Regions from separate parts of the Homo sapiens genome. Here region 1 is linked to region 2. The links are contacts of gene promoters, found by promoter capture Hi-C in blood cells and fetal thymus (Javierre and others, 2016). All regions are on one chromosome and are shown on one strand. Each heading gives the region's core, a stretch centred on a gene start or on the middle of the fragment in contact. The rest is flanking DNA. Distances are from core to core; before and after follow the strand shown.

Region 1 (3,748 bases), core at 1,029-3,528, 51 kb after region 2:
AACCCCGTCTCTACTAAAATAAGAAGAAAAAATTAGCCGGGCATGTGGCGCATGCCTGTAGTCCCAGCTACCCAGGAGGCTGAGGCAGGGGAATCACTTGAACCCGGGAGGCAGAGGTTGCAGTGAGCCGAGATCCCACCACCGCACTCCAGCTGGGGGACAGAGCAAAACTCTGCCTCAAAAAAAAAAAAAAAAAAGAAAGAAAAGAAAACAAAAGCATTATTATTGGACGGGGTGCAGTGACTCATGCCTGTAATCCCAGCACTTTGGGAGGCCAAGGCAAGCAGATCACTTGAGACTAGAAGTTTGAGACCAGCCTGCCAACATGGTGAAACCCTGTCTCTACTAAAAATACAAAAAACAGCTGGGTGTTGTGGCAGGCACCTGTAATCCCAGCTACTGGGGAGGCTGAGGCAGGAGAATCACTTGAACCCAGGAGGTGGAGGTTGCAGTGAGCCAAGATCGCGCCACTGCACCCCAGCCTGGGCGACAGAATGAGAGCCTATCAAAAAGAAAGAAAAGAAAAGAAAGGAAAGGAAAGAAAAGGAAAGGAAAAGAAAGGAAGAGAAAGAAAGAGAAAATAAAAGAAAGATTAAAGAAAAGAAAGAGAAAGAAAGAAAAGAGAGAAAGGAAAGCATTAAAAGCATTATTATGCTCTATATTCAGATTCAACAGATATTTACTGAGCACATATAATCTTTAATGTATTTTGCTAGGTGTTATGGAGAACTACAAAAATATAGCAAGCATGGGTTCTACCCTTATGAACATTCAGTCTAGCAAAGAAGCAGTATAGTATGGATATCTACATAAAAGATCATAATATAAGCTATAAAGTATTAAAAATGACACCATTTGAGTTAAAAGAAAAAAGATGCTATTCAAAAAGCTCAGAGGAAAAGTTAGCTTCTAGTCAGGGTGGTGTCAAGGAAGCTTGGTGGGAGAGTATTTATACTAGAAGGATTAAAAGAAGTAGGATATCATGACTAGATAGGTTTAGTCATACAGCGGATGGGGCAAGGGCATTTTAGATAACCATAAGGACAAGGACCCTGAACTGGGAAATTATGCTGCATGTACAGGGAGTGACTGTGCAGTCTGACCAAAGAACAGGGCAAGTAATGAAGAAACTGGGGCCCCGGGTGGTTATGGATTACCCAGAGCCATAGCACCAGACAGCCCTAGAATGGGCATTGAATCCCAGGCGTTTTCCTTCTTTAATGCTCCCACAATATGACCAAGTCAACATTTTAGTCACTGCTCTGCTTTATTTACAACAACCCATTATATATTGTCCATTAAGTAATTGACTCAACAAACACTTATCGAATATCTAGTACACTCTAGGCATAATTGGATGCTATGGTCTCCAAGGCTGATTTGATATGTGTTATAAAATACTTTTTCCCAAGTGGGGAATAGGGCTAATATTGGGCTAAGACAGATTGTCTTTGTCTTTGTTAAAATTTTATAGAGTTATACTTCAGAGCAAATACTATAAACAACAAAGACAATTAAATAAACCACAAAAACAGATCTCTGTATCATGTTTTTCTACACGACATCAATACACTGAGTCTTAGCAATGACTGCCCATGTGTTTTTTCCATAACTATGCTTACTTATGTTTTAGCAAGGGGTAATACAGAAGGATATGAAACCCTCCATCCTTGAGCGAAAGTTTAAAAACATTTCTAGTATTATAGTAGAACAAGACTCACTTCCGTTTAGCTTATCAACCACCAAGAGACATTTCCCCTTTGTACTTGTTATGTTTTAGTGTAACTATGGAGACACAGCACTTTCCATGCAAGTGACACACATGATTTTGGTTTAACATACTCATTTTCTGAGAAACATTTTAAAATGTGGTCACTATTTTAAAAATTGTGGTCACTATGAGATCTTTGAGCTACTTTGGTATTTCAATGTAAATCCATACATTTGTTAGCAATATTCATTGAGGGAAGAGTTAAGTACCACGGATTATGGATTCTTTCTGATTCCATCAAACTATTCCTAATTAAAGCTTTGGTGCCAGAAAAAAAAAGGTAATTATGAATTGAACAAATTGGGCTATCAGATATTTTTATAAATCGTAGGGTATATCAAGTTGAGTTTTGAGAGCTCTGTTTCCAGGTATATGGCAGGCTAGGAATTCACACTGCACCTCCCACTGGAAACAATTAAAAAGGCTGAATTAAAAAAAATCTTAAACCTCTTAGAAGCATTGAGCATGGGCAAGAAAGAAAGAAATTATTAGGTCAAAGAGAAGTGAAGAAGGAATCCAGACAGGTAAGTGGACAACACTGTCCAGGTGTACAACACCAGGAGGCACCATTTGGATTCTATTCACCTAAATGATGCTCTTGGGGTTGTTTGATGCTATGGCCCTGAGATCACTTTGCCCTAAGGGCATTTGCTCAACCTGGTGAACTGCAGCTTGGGCTTCACAATGGTTCCAGAGACAAGGTAAAGCCGAGGGCTTGGAGAATCCCATTGGAGACCATTCTCCCAATAAAGCTTGGACCCTTTAGGTGGAGATGAAAACCAGCATATCCATTCATCCTCAGGGTACTGCACAAAAAGTTCCTGTGGAACTAAGTAGAACTAAGTACTAAAAAATACTGTCACTGAAAGACTGACTTGTGATGATCTACAGCCAAAACAGGTTCATAAAAGCCTCAAGCTATTACTCTAAGTTGAGTAGGCAGGCCCCAGGTGCGTGGAAGAAACAAATACAAATCTTCTCTGGAGGAAGGTACCTCAATAACTCACAAATTATTTTCTAAGAAAATTGAGCAGCTCACAGTAACAAACATTAAGCACTCAAAGAAATGCTACTATATAAATGAAAACCAGAAGAAAGAAGAAATCACATACAATAGAATTAAATGGAAAACATCTACAAATATTTGAGAAATTTAAATTATCACACATACAAGGTGAAAAAAACATTTTACTTCTTTTTTTTTTTTTTTGAGACAGAGTTTTGCTCTTGTTGCCCAGGCTGGGTGCAATGGCGCGATCTTGGCTCACAGCAACCTCCACCTCCTGGGTTCAAGCGATTCTCCTGCCTCAGCCTCTGGAGTAGCTGGGAGTAGTCATGCACCACCACGCCTGGCTACTTTTGTATTTTTAGTAGAGATGGGGTTCCTCCACTTTGGTCAGGCTGGCCTCGAACTCCCGACCTCAGGTGATCCACACTCCTCAGCCTCCCAAAATGCTGGGATTACAGGCATGAGCCACCGTGCCTGGTCACCATTTTACTTATTTAAGAAAAAAAAAAATACAAAGTAGAAAATACCTATTTATTAGGCTCATGAACCCCACGGAGGGAGCATCGTTAAAGTCTCTCTTCCCCCTGCCATCATGTCTAAGGCGGAGTTTCCTAAAGAACCAGAACAGCAGAGGAAGCTCTTCACTGGAGGGTTGAGCTTGGAATGAGAGCCTGAGGAGCCATTTTGAGCAATGGGGAACGCTCACAGACTGTGTGGTAATGAGAGATCCAAGCACCAAGCGCTCCAGGGGCTTAGGGTTTGTCACATATGCCCCTGTGGAGGCAGTGGATGCAGCCGTGAATGCAAGGCCACGCAAGGTGGATGAAAGAGCTGTGGAAACAGAGAGCTGTCTCAAGAGAAGATTCTCAAAGACCCAGTGCCCACTTAACTGTGAAAAAGATATTTGTTGGTGGCATTAAAGAAGACACAGGGCCTGGCCCAGTGGCTCACGCCTATAATCCCAGCAC
Region 2 (3,549 bases), core at 606-3,105:
TTGTATTTGTAAAATGAACTAAGTACCCTGAAAGTACTTTCCAGTATGGAGGGGGAGGGTGGATACCAAAAGTATTCACCCTATACAGTAGAATATTCTGAGTCAGAGGAGTAAGAGATGATAAGAGTATAACAGCAGACTAGTTAGTATAACAAGATTTGCAAAGTATTGGGAAAGCAAAGAAATCTTTCCTGCTTGGTTTAGTCAATCATTCTTAGCACCCAATGGCAAAGACAGAAACAGTCACCATGCTTAACACTCTTGAAACTCCACCCTCCACAGTAAAGCTTTAATAGCAATGGCTTCTTCCTCAGTGGTAATGATCTTTGTTCGGCACACTACTGATGGCTACCTTCCCAATTCAGGAGCAGAGAAAGAGCATCAGAGTGAGAGTGCATTCACTGAACAAAAAAAGCATCTACTGTACTCTCTTCTCATTGAAAAATGTACCCTTTATCTTCGTTGATTAAAAAAAAAAACCGGATTCCTTCCGGACTCAACCAATAAGCAATTCTTTCTAACCAACCCTGACCCTCCAATATGTTCTGTCCAAGGGCACTACATGTTTCCGTATCTTATAATAAATATTTAATGTAACCAAAAGAGCACACAACTTCCTCCCACCCCCAACCTTTTGGGAAAGGTATGTGGCTAACTAGGGCTCTTCCCTTCCTGTTGGATCCTCCCAGCGTTGCAGCAGGAAGCAACCAGTTCATAGAGATAAAGCAAGCTAGTATTTGTGCAGCGCACAACCTTTCCTGCTCAGGAACCAGGCCTTCAGGTCTGGCAAGGATAACAGCCACCACCCATCCGCAACCTCATCTCGCGAACCGAGTAAAGAGTTATCCCGGGTTGGGTGCCACTGAGTAGGGAGGGCAAGAAAAGAAAAGGCTAGGTGGGAAGTAATGTCAGCCTGCCGGGTCACTGCGACAAGTGCGCGAGTGGGTGATGGGCGATCCCTCTTACCCTCCCTCCCACCACCCAGGTCGCAACGGAGACAAGGGAGCTCTAAACACGATTTGGGGAGGGAAGGTAGAGAGAGTTGCCAAATGGGGAGTGGGAGAGGGAGCGGTCAGAGAAGGTTAAGGACCGCGAGAACCGCGGGGCGGAGGGTGGGGGCGGAGGCCCTTGGCCCGCTCAGATTTTACGGGGTCCTGGACCCGGGATGGGAGAAGCTTAGAGGGGCGGCCGTCCAAGTGGAGGGGAGATACAGAAGAGACGCTCGCTCGAGGGGGGAAAGAGGGCAGATAAGAAAAAGACCTGTAATGGGAGTCTGCACCGAAGGCAAGGCCAAGAGGGAAGCGAAGAACCCGTCAGAGGGGCTTCGGGAGAGGACGCGAGCTGGGAAGGGTGTACGCCGAGGGGGAGGGGGCGCTACACCCGAAAAGAGAGATGGTGGGAGGAGCGGCGGGGCCGTAGAACCCGGGGAAAGGAATTCGACGATGTGGGAGAAGGCAGTCCGCCAGGGGAAGGACACGCAGGGAGGGGCTCTGAGGCCAGCGAAGGCCTATGGAGAGGTCGCTCAGAGAGCGGCATGTGATGGGGACCCCTGTCTGAGCGGGGGAGAAGAGGCTGAGCTGGGTAGGAGACGGAACCGCACAAAAAGGAAGGGCTGAGGGAGGCCTATATCAGTGCAGGGGTGGCCGGCACGAGGGTCCACCGGGAGTGGCCCGGGTCCCCGAACGAGGACTGTGTAGAGTGCGAGAGCCCATGGCCTCACCTTTAAAGAGGTAGTCGTACTCGTCGTCGCGGGTGCCCATTGCGCGGCCGAGGAGCGAAAGGGCGGGAGCAGCAGTGGTATCTGTGGGACCAGGGGGCGTCGCTGCAGGGGTAACCCGAGCGCCGAGCTTCAACTGCCGGACTGGGTGAAGAGCCCCTCCCTGCCGCTGCGCCATTTCCGGCAGGCCCCAGCCTTTAAGGGGAAGTACTTCCGGGGGCGGCGCCCCGCCCCTGAGCCCAACAAGGGCGGTGTGCGCGAGAGTCGAGATGCGTGGGGCTTCAAGCTTTAGTCGCTAAAGGAGGCTCAAAGGGGAAACTGAGTCCTGGAACTCCTAGCTACCATAGTCTTAGTGGCCGCTTGCTCATTTCTCGAGCTACCGTGCCGGAAGCGGCTCGCTGGAACCAGGCGGGACCGCCTGTGAGTGGTGGGTTTGTGGATGGGGGCGGGGTTCTCTGAGGATTAGACAGCCGAAGGCAGCTACACATGCGTGGCGGTTCCATGGTGTAATGGTTAGCACTCTGGACTCTGAATCCAGCGATCCGAGTTCAAATCTCGGTGGAACCTGCATTGGTTTTTGTTTTTTTAATCTTGACAACATCTTTAATTCACTTTTTTGGTCACTAAGTAATTGAACAACTATGACACATCTTAAGATGGAGATGTAAAATTTAATCCTTGCCTATGAAGACCTCACAAATTTCCCACTGCATTTCAGGTGCTATCTGCTACCTGGCGGGGGGTTGTCTTAATGAGCTTCTTCACTGCCTTTTTTTTAACCCTGGGCTTTCAAGCCTTGATTCAAAAGCTTCAGTGAAACTTGAAAATTCCTTTTGCTGGAATTTTCTACCTCCAGCTTCATGCACGGGTAGGCGCTTGTCACTCACTCCTCTCCGGAAATCTCGCAATCTATCTCATTTTCATTTAGAGTACTTCGCCCACCCTCCTCATCAAGATTCATCAAGAACTTGAGTCCTATTTGTAGGCCTCTAATCTAAGTCCGTTTACATAAGTATTTCATTTAACATGCCAAGCAAAGGATGGTAATTTCCATTTTAGCGGAAGTTTGGATACTAAGACTCAAGTGATTTGCCAGATATCATGTCGCAGGGCCTCCCTGTATTTGAAGAGAATTTTGTCATTCCAGAAAAGCCTTTATCCAATTATTGTCACACCTCCTACCTCCTATATGCAAACTCTCGATTTAGACTTGTGGGCAAGTATGCCTATAACAAGCAGAATAATGCCCCCTGCCAATGATGTCCACTTCCCAATTCCTGGAGACTGAATAGGTTAGGTTACATGGCAAAGGGGAATTGAGGTTACAGATGAAATTAAGGTTGCTTATCAGCTGACATTAAATTAGGGATATTATCCTGGATTAGTTGGGTGGGCCCAGTGTTGTCATAAGGTCCTTAAAAGTAGAAAATGGGCTGGGCACGGTGGCTCAGGCCTTAATTCCAGCACTTTGGGAGGCCAAGGTGGGTGGATCACCTGAGGTCAAGAGTTCAAGACCAGCCTGGCCAACAAGGTGAAACCCTGTCGCTACTAAAATACAAAAAATTAGTCTGGCGTGGTGGTGGGTGCCTGTAGTCCCAGCTACTCTGGAGGCTTAGGCATGAGAATTGCTGGAACCCGGGAAGCGGAGGTTGCAGTGAGCTGATACCACGCCACTGCACTCCAGCCTGGGCAACAGAGAGAGACTCGTTCTCAAAAAAAAAAAAAAAAAAGTGGAAAATGGAGGCAGAAGAGGTCAGAGTGATGTGACTTGAAAAGACCTCAATCTGCCCTTGCTGGCTTTGAAGATGGAGGAAAGGGCCCAGGAGCCTAGG

The links. The method cuts DNA at HindIII sites, captures the fragments that hold promoters and counts their contacts. A CHiCAGO score of 5 or more calls a contact.
Region 1: a fragment that was not itself captured here is called in contact with the fragment with the promoter of RAB11A in region 2 in 1 of 17 cell types (megakaryocytes); the score reaches 5.5 in megakaryocytes.

Annotation. Positions count from the first base shown.
Region 1 is chr15:65,817,129-65,820,876 of GRCh38, reverse strand. All of the region lies in intron 1 of LOC105370866 (a long non-coding RNA gene), which reads right to left. It also overlaps the pseudogene HNRNPA1P44. Among named protein-coding and RNA genes, the nearest start is that of DENND4A, 27 kb to the right of the region's middle. The HindIII fragment of the contact is 494 bases long and covers 2,032-2,525 here.
Region 2 is chr15:65,867,797-65,871,345 of GRCh38, reverse strand. RAB11A (RAB11A, member RAS oncogene family) reads right to left here and starts at 1,855. Exons shown (of 5, transcript NM_004663.5): 1 at 1,721-1,855. The coding sequence starts at 1,760. TRQ-CTG1-4 (tRNA-Gln (anticodon CTG) 1-4) reads left to right here and starts at 2,213; the gene lies at 2,213-2,284. RefSeq lists an enhancer at 1,982-2,041. The HindIII fragment of the contact is 828 bases long and covers 1,178-2,005 here.